Linked DNA regions of Homo sapiens: all the other regions are linked to region 1. Evidence: promoter capture Hi-C in human tissues and cell types (Jung and others, 2019). All regions are on one chromosome and are shown on one strand. Each heading gives the region's core, a stretch centred on a gene start or on the middle of the fragment in contact. The rest is flanking DNA. Distances are from core to core; before and after follow the strand shown.

Region 1 (4,596 bases), core at 1,002-3,501:
GAATGTATCCTGGAGAGCAGGTAGGCATTTGTGGTAGACACTGTAGTGGGCCACCCAGAGTCCCCCTCAACCAAGCGCTGTCCCGCCAGCTGCAGAAAGTGTCAACTATTGACAACCTCTATCTGGGGACTCTCCAGGAACTGCCCTTCTTGAAGGGCACCTCACCCAAACACAGGTACCCTCCCTGGACACAGCCTGTCCCCAGCGAGTGGCCAGCGCATGGGTGCAACGCCTGGCCTCCTGCCTCAGGGGGAGTGACTCTCAGGGCTCTCAAATTCAGAGCCCTCCATGGGGTTGGCCGAGGCCTCTGTTGCAACTGTTCCTCAGTTCACCTTCCTCTTCTGCCCACCCTGGGTCCTGCCATTCTTCAGGTGTGGCTCCTGAGAGCACCGGCCTGTGAGACCCTGCGGAGAAATCACCGCCAACCGTGTGAGCACTCACCGCAGGGAAACAGCCTTCCACCACCTCCGCCTCCTGCTCTTGACCAAGCCCGCTAGGAGCACTAGGCCTCAGCCTCCTCATCTGTAAGACAGGGGCCAAAATGGTCTTAATTCTCAGAGTGTCATAAGCATGAAATGAGAGCGTGCACAGAAAGCCCTTACTTAGGCTTGGTGTGTAGTGAACGCCCAATAGAAGTGCTTGGTGTGCAGTGAATGCACAATAGAAGAAGTGATATGTGGCCGGGCGCGGTGGCTCACGCCTGTAATCCCAACACTTTGGGAGGCCGAGGTGGGCGGATCACGAGGTCAGGAGATCGAGACTATCCTGGGTAACGCGGTGAAACCCCGTCTCTACTAAAAATACAAAAAATTACCCAGGCGTAGTGGCGGACGCCTGTAGTCCCAGCTACTTGGGAGGTTGAGGCAGGAGAATGGCGTGAACCCGGGAGGCGGAGCTTGCAGTGAGCCGAGATCGCGCCACTGCACTCCAGCCTGGGCGACAGAGCGAGACTCCGTCCCCCCAAAAAAAGAAGTAGCGGTATGTATGATGTTGTTCGTCACAGAAAGCATGGAAAATACAGAAAGACACAGAGAAGAGAGTAAATTCACCCATGGGTCTACTGCCGGGTTAACAGGCACTACCAAGATTTCAGGTGGTGGGGGCGCACGCGCATGCGCACCAACACACGGGCCCTAGAAAAATAAACTCGGGATCCTAAGCGTGTACGCTGCGGTGCCCACACACGCGTCTGCCGTTCTCACCCCGTTTTCTGCTTTAATTTTCTGCTTAAATTGGTCATTTTCTGTGAAATGCACATTCCACTTCTGGGTAGTGTGCACCGCCCATCTCCCCCACGGAGTGCAGGAAGGTGGCAGCGGGGCTGTGTTCCAGGCCAAGGCCACACAGCCCGGGGGGCCGCACGCGGGGGCAGCCTTGGTACACGAGGCCTTTCATTTGTTGGTTTTACAGCTGGAAGAATTCGGATATACTTATTGACCGAGAGAAGAGTCCAAAACTCAGGAGTGGAAAATAACGAAGAATGAAGAAAGGAAACAGGAAGAGGTTGACCTGATTGATGGAAAGGAGCTCCTCTTTCTCCAAAACCAGAAGGAAAAGGAAGATTTAGAGAGCAGAGGAGGGTAAGTTTCCCCCGGATAATATGGGTTCAGTTGCATAATACGGCCAGGATGTTATCTGCAAAGAAGCTGTGGGGAGGAGAAGGCAGAGCAAGGAGCGCAGGGCTGAGACTGTGGGAGATGCAGCCGGAAATGACAAAACAGAAACAAAACGTGACCAAGGCCATTTGGGGTCCAGCTGAAGTTCAGCGGCTTAGATGCGTAGTAAGTCCCATGAGCACTGTTGCACGACTTGCCCACAGCTGTTCACATATGGACTTTGCAGCTCACATTGACTCTGGCCAGGGCGGGAGAGCCGGGGAGCCAGGCAGGTGCGTGGGAAGGGAGAGAAGAAAGGGAAGACGCGGTGCCCATTCCATATTTACCTTAGTAGTCATCCAGACGCACTTCCCTCTCCAATCCCCAAACAAGAAGAGGCAGAAACTGTCTACCAGTTAGACGGGAGGTGTCAGCGCCCCTGGAGGCTGTGGCCATTGCCAGGGAGACCCCACTCTGCACAGCTCACAAACACACCGTGTGTGTGCAGGGTCCTCACCCGCCCTGGGCAGGAAATGGGGGAGTTCTACGTCCACTTTGTCACGCAGACAATGGAGGGGACCGCAGAAGGGGCTTCCCCAAGGACACAGAGCCAGTGGCCGCCTCACTGTGTGCCCCTCAGTGGGCGTTTCCACACTGCCTGGCAACTTTGAGAACAGCCGCTTTCGCTGGGTCTCCAGTGAAACTTGAAACCATTTGCATCTGCAAGTACTTTACTTATTCCATTTCAAAGGCATGCACATTTTTAAAGGGACACTGTTTTTAGCTCCTGCGTCACTGACTCATCCCGCATAATTTGACTTTATGGGACAGGGTCCCCTAAGGAGTGTCCTTGCCTTGACAGTCCTGTCTTGAAAGCTGTGAAGACCAAGTGGTGCCATATATATTGTTTTAAAATTATGGACTACCTAGAAAAGAGGTGAAATAGTAAAAAAAAGCAAAACTTTTAATATTCAATGACAAACACAGACAGAAAATAGGGAAAAATTAAATGTTAATGTGTTGGGATGATTGGATTTTGAATAAATTTTATTTATTGAATTGATATGAAGTTTATGGAACAGGGATAAACAGTTTGTTTCATATGATTATATATTTAGGTATTCGTTGACATACATATATACGTATACATATACACGTATGTATTGCCGTGTGTACATATAGACACATAGCATGTATGTATAAAACATATACATATGTGCCAAATTACAAAACGAGAAGTCGTGTTGCTCATCCTGCTCTATTATAAGAAACCTCAAGCAACAGTAGGTACTGGAAAATGCCAAGTCTGCATGATCCCGGCAAGGGCAGATCCTGCCACTGGAGTTCTGGAATGCATCTCTCCCCACTTGGCAAAGATGCAGGGTGCAGAGGGGGTGTCAGCAGAGGGGCTGGGTGCAGAGGGGTTGCAGACTTACCACAGGAGGACTTTATCAAGAGATGTGGGTTTTCTGGGCATCCAGGACACCCACAATGGGGTGACAGAATTGTCTGTGGAGTGGAGTCCTAGTATTGAACTTGGCAGCTGCTACCGGATGCTCTTCTGGCACCTATGTTTTCAGAAAAACAGGAGCTGGCCAAGAGTATTTGCCAGATTTCTCCCTGGATTGGACTGATTTCTGCACTCAGCCCAGGTTTGTTTTTTTTTTTTTTTGGTGTGTGCCCCCGCGCCCGGCTAATTTTTGTATTTTTAGTAGAGACGGGGTTTCACCTTGTCAGCCAGGCTGGTCTCGAACTCCTGACCTCAGGTGATCCGCCTGCCTTGGTCTCCCAAAGTGCTGGGATTACAGGCGTGAGCCATGGCACCCGGCCTCAAACCAGCCTCAATCTGAAGGACGTGCATACTCTCCACAGGTCCCACAGGTCTTTCTAGGGTCCTTGCCCCTTACGTGCACTTCCTCTCTGAAGAGGTCCTTCCTCCACCATGTTGTCCCAGCCTGAAATTGTCCCTCATTATGGAGACTTGAGTGGTGTCTCCCACTGACTCCTCTCTCAAGGGGTGAGGGTTTGCTTGACCAGACACCAGCAGTGGGGCACACCCCTTCCAGTTCACCCTGATGAGCTCCTTATGCCACCACAGGGTCAAAATCAGGTTTAATAGCAGCAGCATTCGCAGTAGCCACAAAATGGAAACAACTCAAGCACCCCTCCAAGAGGGGGAATGGATAAGTAAAGTGTGCTGTATCCCCACGATGGAATATTATTCACTCATGAGAAGGAGTGAAACACTGGCACATGCCACAACGTGGATGAACCTTAAAAGCCTTATGCTGAGTGGAGGACGTCAGGCACAAAATACCACAGATTGTTATGAGCCCAGTTGTATGAAATGTCCAGAAGAGGCAAATCCATAGAGACAGAAAGCAGATCCGAGGTCGCCAGGGTCTGAAGGAGTCGGGGATGGGGAATGATTGCTAATGGGTCCAAGGGGGCTTTCCTTTCTGCATGAGGACAGTGTTTTGAAACTGGAGGTGATGGTGGCATAACACCGTGACTACACTAAATGCCACTGAGTTGTACACTTTTGATTTTAGGCTATGTGAGTTTTACTTCAGTTAAAAAAATAGATTGAAGGCTCAGAGAGATTTAGGGGTGGGAGGGTAAGGATTTAGGATTCAAAAGAACTTGACTAAGGAGCTGAGAATCTTAAATATATTTCCAGTGTCATTGGGTTACTGGCTGACCTCTGTGTGCTACCTTGGTACCCTACCCCAATCGACGCTTTGTTCTATGAGAAAAAGCATTCTGAGCTTCAAGTAACTGAAGTAACTGATTTATAAACAAACCGTTGGAATATAATCTTTTTCTTTTTAATTGTTGGGGACTATCTGTAATTTAGTCTCTAAAATATAGTTAATCTTTGGCTCTTGCTCTGAATTAATCAATAAAAAAGACATCATAGTGGTAATCTTTGGGGGAAGTGAAATTCAATTTAATCCATTTTTTCTATTTGTTAGCTCCTCCGGTAATTGGTTTGATGGGG
Region 2 (4,596 bases), core at 1,361-3,860, 120 kb after region 1:
CTTGGTTCAAACAGCAAAACAGGCTCTTTCCACGGCTGTTTCCCCGAGAACCCCGACTCCTCCACTGCAGCCGTTGCACTTCAGAACCCACCTCCGCAGAATCCAACGGAGAGGCAGGTTCTGCATGGCCACCGCTGAGAGCTGGCTGTGCCCTCTTTGCACCCCCTTGATCATGGAATATACATCCACTTACTTACAGTCTAAGGCGATGGCTCAGAGGCGTGCACTTAGTGGTTGGAAAATTCACATCTAGTAAAGTTAGATGGGTGTCAAAGCCACAGCCGGGCTTGCCGTGACAACCGTCAGTGCCAGGCCATTGTCACACACATGAGCTGGCCAGAGAATAAGTGCTCTGGGAACACTCACGCCTTATCAGTTCTGTTCTGTTAAGAGCTCTTCTCAGCTAGCTCTAAACTACTATTTTCTTTTTCTTTTCTTTTTTCCTCTTTTCTTTTTCTTTTTTTGAGACGGAGTCTTGCTCTGTTGCCCACGCTGCTGGAGTGCAATGGGGCGATCCTGGCTCACTGCAACCTTCACTTCTTGGGTTCGTACAATTCTGCTGCCTCAGCCTCTCCAGTGGCTGGGACTGCAGGCATGTACCACTACACTTGGCTAATTTTTGTATTTTTAGTAGAAATGGGGTTTCACCAGGTTGGCCAGGCTGCTCTTGAACTCCTGACCTCAGGTGATCTGCCCACCTCGGCCTCCCAAAGTGCTGAGATTACAGGCGTGAGCCACCGCATCCAGTGTAAACTACTATTTTTTTGTATTAGAACCCAGAGCTGATCCATTGTGGTGAGACATTTAAGAATGTGTGGTGTCTGTGTGTGCACACACGTATCACTTGATTTGAAAAATAGATTAAAAGCCAGATTCTCTATGTGTTTAATATCACATAGTTGGTGCGAACATGATTGGCCCATTCTTCTCATGACTTATGTCATTTTAAGAAATTTAAGACCAAATTTTAGAATTTATTGGTTTATCTTTCACATAATTATTCTTAATTGAGCCTTTAAACAACTACAGTGCTAATGAAGTAGGTAACCTTCTTCGGGTGAAGAAAGTTAAAGAAAACCTGAAAAGAGAATTTTGATCGACAGTAGTATGTAGATTCAAATAGCAGTTTGTGGTTTACTGTGTAACTCTTGAAAATCACCAGAGACACGAAAACTGTGTACATTCAGCATTGCCTGTATTGCCAGCTGGTATACATAGTGACAGAGGGCATTTGTTCTGTGATCAGCTAAATTGTAAGACATTATATTACATTTTAGGGATGAAAACCCTTAAAATAAACTGAAACCCAGCTGAGGAAAATAACACGTGGAACTGGTATCCCAACTTTAAATAAGATTATTTTTCAGTGAAATCGTACTTCAGGATATGCTAGTATGCTGTTCAAGAAAGTAGGAAAATGGCTTGTTTCAGAATAAGTAGGCTTTTTTAAACAACTGGATTGTAAACAATTGGTAATGCTGAAAGCCAAACAACAATGAAGGATTTCACTAATTTAATGTAAATACATAGGAATCTATATATGTACATGTTAGTCTTTAAAATTCTGTAAGAAATACAGTTTTAAAGTGAAGTTTTTGAGTAAGGGTAAAAGATAATGTTTTGATGGCCTAAGAATTTCTCAAGAATAAAACTTTTTGTTCCAATGTTTGTTTAAAAAAAGTGACATGAAATTTCTTGAACTGTTTAGTAATCAGACAAACTGCTTAAATATTGTATCAGTTTGAAAAAACATTTAACGAAACCTTTTAAATAAGCAGATGTTCACTAGTCTTGAATACATAAGAACTGTGTGAAGACTTGGGACATTTTTGTTCATGAGGTTTCGTGAAGATTTTTCTTGTTCACCAATATTATTGGCTTTTACGTCATCATTTAAAGACCTGTTTCAATTTTAGTTTTATACAGTCACATTGAACCCCTGCCCAAAGTGGGTTAGATGAAGAAAACATATATCTTAGCATAAAATCAGTTCCGGTGGGAGGAAACCGTGGCAGCCCAGATATTTGGGGGTGGGCGTTAAGGTGTGCTGAGGTATTCGAGGGGATGAAATTGAACCAGTCATGACATAATTTTTTTTTTGAAACAAAAAATGTACTTTATCTTATTAATATAGTCATATAAAGTGAATGTAGTTGGTTGATTGATAATGGGATTGCATGGGAAACCTGGATCCTTTTCTCTTCCTTAGTCCTAGCATCTTTCTATCGATTGATTGATTGAACAGACGTCTGTTGGGTGTGGTGCTGCTAGGCAAGATGAACGATACCCTCTCCCTGCTGCCTAGGAGCCTGGCGTCCGCCAGAGAAGGATTTTAGATATGTGTAATTTATATATAATTTTAAAGTCATGTAGTAGTAGAATTTAACTGCTAAATTCTACTTAAAGTTCTTCCACTACATTTTTATTGTTTTGGCAAGGTTTGCAGGATTGAATTAGTCACTAAGGAGAGAGAGAGTGTGGTCAACTTTAAAGCCACAGAAAATCTTTTTTAAAAAATGGGAATAAACCGTATGGCATTTTCAGCAGTACGTCCTGTTTCCAAATAATAGCACTTCGTTTCTGCCTCCGCTTCCCGCTTCCTCACAGAGGCCTTGGTTTCAGCATTACCTTGGCAGGTGCAGTGTCTCATGTCTAAGGAGAAGTGGGCCTCTGAGCAGGGCTCACTGTGGGCCGCGGTGGCGTGCAGTGATGCTAGGTTCTGGTAGGTTCCGGGTAGGTTATGGCGGGACTCAGAGGTGGGCGAGGTGGAGGGAGGATGCCACACTCAGCCCGGTGTCCCGGGACATTGAGGGAAGAAAGACTAGAAAGAAGACCCGGAGTTCTTTGGGAGAGGAGAGGACTCAGTGGGACCATGGAATCCCTGGTTGCCCAAAACTGTGTCCAGACAAAATCTTGAGAGGAAAAGAGTCCAGGAGCTGCCTCAGTTGCTGTTGGTCACTTTGTCACGTGGGGCCACATCTTGGCAACGACTTGACTTCCTGCTTCCACATCAGGAGGCACGGTGTGTCCTTATCCTCCGGCCTCCCCTCCCTTCCTCTATTACCCAGTGCATTGCAGTCCTTGAGGAAGAAATGAGGTCAGTCTCCATGGCCATTGTCTTCCTAAGGCTGGCCCTGCTGATCGCCAGGTGGGTTCGTAGAGTGTGTGGGCTCCCGTCGGTCCCCAGGTGAGTGGAGGCAGTGTTTGGGGTCACGCCTGTGTGCAGTAGGACTAAGCTAAGAGTAGGAATGGCCCTCCCAGGAGGGGAGGAGAGCCTTGGGCTGGAGTGGCCCACCCAGAGTCAGGGCTGTTTTCAGGTTTTCCTGTTTCAGGCCGTCCCTTTGGGTGCCGTGTACGTCCCCTCTGTCCCCAGTGAGGAAGGAGAGCATCGCCAGGGTGTTCTCCCCTGGAAGTGCAGCAGCAGTCAGCACGGCGACCTTCGCTGGTCTTGGTCCCGGACTTAGGAATGCAGCCTCATCAGGGAGCTGTGAATCATTAGTGCCGCTTCCTCTGAAAATAGTTTTTGACATTCAGCTGCAACAATGCCACTATTTACCATCTACATGGTGGTCTCTGGGCTGCTCTTGCATTTTGCCGAGGTCATTAAAAAATCTGGAATACACACCCACACGGTCTTGGAGAGGATACGTTTTATGATCTGGGATCATCTCGGGTTGACTCCTTTGAATGTTCAGATGTTTTTATTTTAAGAGTATTTTAAGGTTAAGATGACCTATGTGCTTTGCTAGTTTTCTTATCTAAGTATGTGATAATAAAAAGTGGTATTTTAAATATTTTAAAAACTGCTTTATGCTGGAGGGGTGGTACACGTTTTCAGGCACTGTCTCCCCACTGCCTGAGTGCAGAGGGCTCCTGGCAGAGACTGTCCCATCCACCTCCTCATTTTGTGGATGAAAAAGGAAGGTCAAGATGAGGTTTCAGGTCTTTGGAGCCTTCTGAGCCCTCTCCGTAGTCAAGCGGTAATTTTAGGACTTGTTGAGTTTGATGCTTTGGGCTTTTGTGTTTCAGAAGTTTTTTGTGGTGTTTTCAACACATCCTTCCATGCTTTTGGCGTATTTTGTAACTTTTAAGTATTTTATAGTTTTAATTTTGCTTTGTTCCCCACCTTTGCTGCTCTCCTCTGAATGCCATGGAATAGTGTCTTGTCTATTAACTCTGATGTCAGTGATCCTAAGTGAAGAATCCAACCTTAGAATTACCTGTGGTTAAGAAATATTTTTGTTGAAGCCGCGACTTGCTGAAATGCTTGGAAATGTTCTTGTCTCCAGTGCAGGATGTTCAGTGGAACTGAGTGTATTTTGGAGGCTGTTGATGTAGAATCTGCACTGTGTGTAGCTGGGGTGCAGTGAGGCATTTTGTCTCTGGGGTATTGCGAAAGGTACACGACACCCATTTCATCCAGAATGACAGGATTGTGACACTCAAGGCTGCACAGTCCTTCGTGAGTAGCCCCTGGCCATGAGAGGCTACGTGTTGAACAGGGCAGATTTAGAGACCGTTTCCATCCCGGAGGAGGACCTGTTAGACAGTCCTGACCTCAGGGATTCCATGTGCTTTTCAGTTGTCTTAAGAACA
Region 3 (4,596 bases), core at 1,508-4,007, 81 kb after region 1:
AGGGTGGGGAGTGGGGGAGGGGGAGGGGCAGATAGGGGAAGAGGCCTACCAGGTCCCTCAGAGCTGCTTTGCTTTTGTGTTACTGGAGTGGCAAGTAGGATTTATTTTTTTAACTTTTAGGAAAAGTTTGCCAAATTTGGAAAAATGGAAAGAGTTAGAAATAAACACCCCCCCCCCTTTAGTTTCATGAGTTGTTAACATTCTGGTACATTTGCCTTCTCTCCGTCTCTCTCTTTCTCTTTGGTAAAAACCAACTCTAAATATTTCATTACACATCTCCAAAGAATAAGACCACTCTCCTATATTACCAGCTTAACACAAGTAACAGTAGTTCTCAAATATCCTGTAATATCCAGTCCATATTGAGGTTTAATTTCTACGAAGAGTTCTGGAGCTACAATATGTTTGAATGTGCTCGTTGTAGATGATTATAGGTGTTGGTCAAAGACTTTTTAATTGTGTTAAATAACCTGTTGTTGTATAAACCATAAGGGCCCAGTGAATATAGAGGTGTTCCTATTTAGCTATTTTGAATCCAGCTTTCTAGCTGCTATTTTGTCCTTTTGCATTTATTAAACCATGTATTGTCATTGCCAGTGACCAAGTACCTTTGCACTGATATTTCATTCACTTATTGAACAATTACTTATTAATCCCGTCTAAGATGGATTGAAGATTTACAGTGTAGTAAACATTGTGGCTTGTATGCATTAATTTAAATTTTACTGGAGTATGATAAAATAGATATCATTGCTATCATTTACATTTTAAAGATGAAGAAATGGACTGAGGAATAGAGAGGCTAAGACACTTGCTCAGGGTCACACAGCTGACCTCAGGTAGTGGCAGAACTGGGTTTTAATCCCAGGTAGTCTGGCTGCCTCTCACAACTTGTTGGGTCACCAGACTCTTATCATTGGCTGAAGGAGGTCAGGAAGGCTGTACTGTACCTGGGTGGTGGTTGGTCAGCCTCATGACAGGTGGGGCAGGGACGCAGGCCTGAGGGCCAGAGGAGAGCATGAGCATGGGTACTTGGGAGGCTGTTGGGCCGGAGTAGGGCTCAGGGCTCTAGACACCGGGGTCCAGGGCAGCTATGGGGTTCAGACCCTGAGAAGCCAAGGTGAAGAGTTTGGCTTCATCTTGCAGACTTGGGGAGCCTCTGAAGGGCTGGGAGACTGGTGGAGACCGGCCCCATCTGTGCTCTGGAACGATGGCTTTGGCTTGACTTGGGCACATGGATTCAAGAGTGAGTTGGGAGGTGCAGCCGACAGGATGTGGGGTTATTACTGGGCACTGCTGAGATGGGGAGGGAGGAGCCAGGGAGGACCTGGTGTTTTGTGCTTGGGTCATGAAAAGTACTTAGAATTCAAGCCACACCAGTGTGGTTCCCAGGTGAGCCTCAGGTTCCCAGGGGAAAACCTGGCCAATCCTTGCAAATATAGTGAATCGCTTCCCTCCTGGCCTTCTGGAAACTTCTCCTTGTCTTACTGGTGCGCTGCCAGCACGCTTTGATAATAGTATGCTTCCCTGTCTGACTTTGAGTTCCTTGAAGCCGGGTGCTTTTTTTGAGTCATCTTAGATTCTCTGGCTCCTGATACGAGGCCTTGCACTTGGTAGGTGCTCAGGAAGTGCTTGTTGCAGGGATACCCTCGTTAGCCCCTGACCGCACCGCCCTAGGACTGGAACACCTCTAAGGAGCCTGCCGTCACCTGAAGTTCCTCGGGGATGTGGACAGAGACTGCTTCCGCTATGTTTGCGCTGTACATACCCCCTGGCTTTGTGAACATGGTTTTCTTTCTGGCTGTATGTGTTGTATCAAGGCTTTGCAGTGCTTGTTTCTAAAGAAGTTTCTGTAGTGTCAGTGGGGTTAACCCTGGGTACACATTTCTTCACACCGGGAAGTGTTTCAGCAGCTTACCGGGGCGTGTGTCAGGAAGTGACTTTTCTGCTCTGTATTATTAGGTCAAAAAGGCAGTTCTTCCTCACTTACAGAAGGGATTGATTAGTTGAAATACTGGCCTACAGAGTAAATGTATCCCAAATTTAGCAAATGTAAGTAATCTGGAGAAAGTCATTTAATTTCAATTGTATGATATAGGCAAAAAAAGAAAGACAAGGAAAAGAAAAAGAAAAATATCCAAAGGTATGGCAGCAGCCTTAATATATATGTCTTTAGATGTTTTTGATGTTTACATGGTTAGTTTTAAAATGTAGCTACATATTTTCTACTTTATATTTTGTCCTTTCTTCAGACTCTCCCCTTCTCCGTTACAATGTATTTTTATGTTATGAGTAAACAGTTTTTTCAAACATTTTACTTCCTGTTTTTTAATAAATGTGATTGTTACCTAAGTTTTTCAAAATGAAATAAAAAAATTTATTTCAAAAATTATATAAGGCATTTAAAAAAAGTGGCCTTGAACTGTTGATTACATCTCTGGAGAAACACACACACATACACACACACTCACACACACTCACATACAGCAAGAGATCCATTGGAAATCTGCTTTAAAACCCTAGTCAGCAAGTCATATTTATGCCTAAACAATTAAATTACGGTTTTGTCTGGCATGTTCCCAGTTCCAGCCTTGGAAAAAGTTTGTAATACATCTTACCAGAACAACAAATCTGTGATTGAACACACAGGCACACCATGTGTTCAGATGGGTCCCTGCCGTCCGAGGTGCGTGGGCGCCATATTGCATGTCAGCTGGACACATGCTGTACCCTCCACCTTGGCTCTGAGCATCTGTGTTGTTGCAGAACCTTTCCGTATTCCCTGTGGTTTGGGTGGCAGGCTCACATGCACAAGTTTTATAAGGCTGGTTATCTCCAGGCCCGTGTGTTACAGGGAGAGTTGGAACAACTTGTATTTGGCGTGCGTTTGAGAAAGTGGAATAGAGCAGCCCAGGACGGAAATGTCTGCGGCTGGAACTGAGGTAGGTAGCACTTTATCACACGGCGCTGCTCCTACGTGAGGCACGCCCCACTAGGGACCAGGATAAAGGTGGAGGAGGCATCCCATCGAAACCCTCCTGGCTTACAGGGGTTGGCGGGATTTAAAGCACAGCCCGTCGTGCCAGCAGGGCCGCTGACGTCCCAATAATCCTCCTAATTGGGGCGGCCGCCCATGGCGTGTTTTGAAGTTGGAAGCTCTGAGGACAGCATTCTTGTTCTTTTTTTGGAAGGGATGCCCTTGTCTTAAATAGCAATTTTTGCCTGCAGCTAAAAAGAATGATTACAGAGATCTTTTGATTTGGCCACTGAGTAACCCCTTAGGAGAGTTCGTTGCAGGGAATTAATTTTTGACTGTTTCTTTAAGGTTTGAGAAACTTTGCTAGTCAACTGTGGACATCAGGAGGGGATCACTTAATCAACCCCTGGGCAGAGGCAGCTTTGCTCACGTGTCCTTCAGATAATGGCGGTTTGGGCTTAACTTGGTTACTGTCTCAGCACTTTTTCTATTTCTACATTTATGTATCTTTCCCTTCACAATGTTCTTAAGTCTAAAAACACATCCTGTGCAGTTCTCACAGGGATTTACAGCAGGTCTTATTTTTGAAAGATGGGACAGGCGGAGAGGTAGTGAGCAGGAAATAGGAAAGAAGGAAGAGCTTGCTTTGTTGATCGCAGAGCATCGTGGATGCTGCTCCTTGAACGTCTGCCTGTAAATTGCAGGGCTCTGCAAGTTTCGGGGAAAGCTTTTAAGTGAGTTTAAGGAAATGGAGACTGCATTCTCTAGTCACCGGGTGCCTGAGGGCCAGGGTTCAGGCTCTAGCTAGGGCGGGGGTACCGGGGAGTCAAGGCTGTGCAAGGATTGGATGGGTCCGATGCTGGCACAAAGGCCTTTCAGATGTACAAGGGCCATGCTCCTTGATACTGTGCCATCTTCCGCTCAGCCGTGGTCATGGCCCAGGATGCCGAGGCTGTGCTGCTGAGCTGGGCTAGATGGGGCTGTATTTGGGGGCTCTGGTGATCCACGAGCGAGAGTGTCTGTATTTCCCCAGCACTCCTGGAAGGGTACCTGCAGGGTAGGAAGCTGCCTGGGATGAGAAGAGGGGCCTAAGTGCCAGGTGTGTGTTTGCCTGGATGTCCCTGGGGTCTGGATGCTGTGGGCTCTGAGGGGGTCACTGGATTTTATAGAAGGAGGCATTTGCAAGGGGCTTCGGTGACATGTGGCTTCTTCTTATTGTTTCTCTGTGCCTGACAGAGGAGGGGACGAGTTGAGGGCGTGAAGGACACGCCTAGAAAGGCATGTGGCTGGTGACTGGGAGCATGAGGGCTGGGACCAGGGTTCCCAACTGCACGTGTGCACTTTGTGCTGAATGCCCTGTGTTGGCCATGACCCTGTGACCTGCACGCTGACGGGTGCACAGCTGCTGGCACACAGCTGGCTGGCACAGAGGCCGCTTCTCTGGGCGCAGACCCCAGGAGCTGCTGCTCTGAAAGAAGGCAGGAGCTGATAGCCCTAGAGCACAGGGTTTTGGTGATTGGTGTGAGTCTTTGCACAGAACAAATCTCCTTTTGCTTCATGCTGCACTCGAGGGCTGTCTCTAACGGCCCTGACCAGGCCTGGGCTCCTCCTGGGTGAAT

The links. Contacts are between HindIII fragments. The study calls those that stand out against the background at their distance.
Region 2: a fragment that was not itself captured here is called in contact with the fragment with the promoter of LINC00908 in region 1 in 2 of the 25 tissues and cell types used here (lymphoblastoid cells and spleen).
Region 3: a contact is called between a fragment that was not itself captured here and the fragment with the promoter of LINC00908 in region 1, in 2 of the 25 tissues and cell types used here (lymphoblastoid cells and mesendoderm cells).

Annotation. Positions count from the first base shown.
Region 1 is chr18:76,526,310-76,530,905 of GRCh38, reverse strand. It overlaps LINC00908 (long intergenic non-protein coding RNA 908), which reads right to left and starts at 2,251. Exons shown (of 3, transcript NR_015417.1): 1 at 1,943-2,251; 2 at 442-522. RefSeq lists enhancers at 590-1,229, 1,653-1,732, 1,230-1,868, 1,869-2,509. The HindIII fragment of the contact is 15,253 bases long and covers 1-4,596 here.
Region 2 is chr18:76,411,069-76,415,664 of GRCh38, reverse strand. All of the region lies in intron 3 of ZNF516 (zinc finger protein 516), which reads left to right. Among named protein-coding and RNA genes, the nearest start is that of ZNF516-AS1, 78 kb to the left of the region's middle. RefSeq lists enhancers at 3,124-3,684, 4,549-4,596 and a silencer at 4,389-4,438. The HindIII fragment of the contact is 9,760 bases long and covers 1-4,596 here.
Region 3 is chr18:76,445,766-76,450,361 of GRCh38, reverse strand. The region is part of intron 2 of ZNF516 (zinc finger protein 516); the gene reads left to right. Among named protein-coding and RNA genes, the nearest start is that of ZNF516-AS1, 44 kb to the left of the region's middle. RefSeq lists enhancers at 642-1,141, 1,142-1,643, 2,529-3,106, 3,107-3,685, 3,686-4,264. The HindIII fragment of the contact is 3,236 bases long and covers 1,140-4,375 here.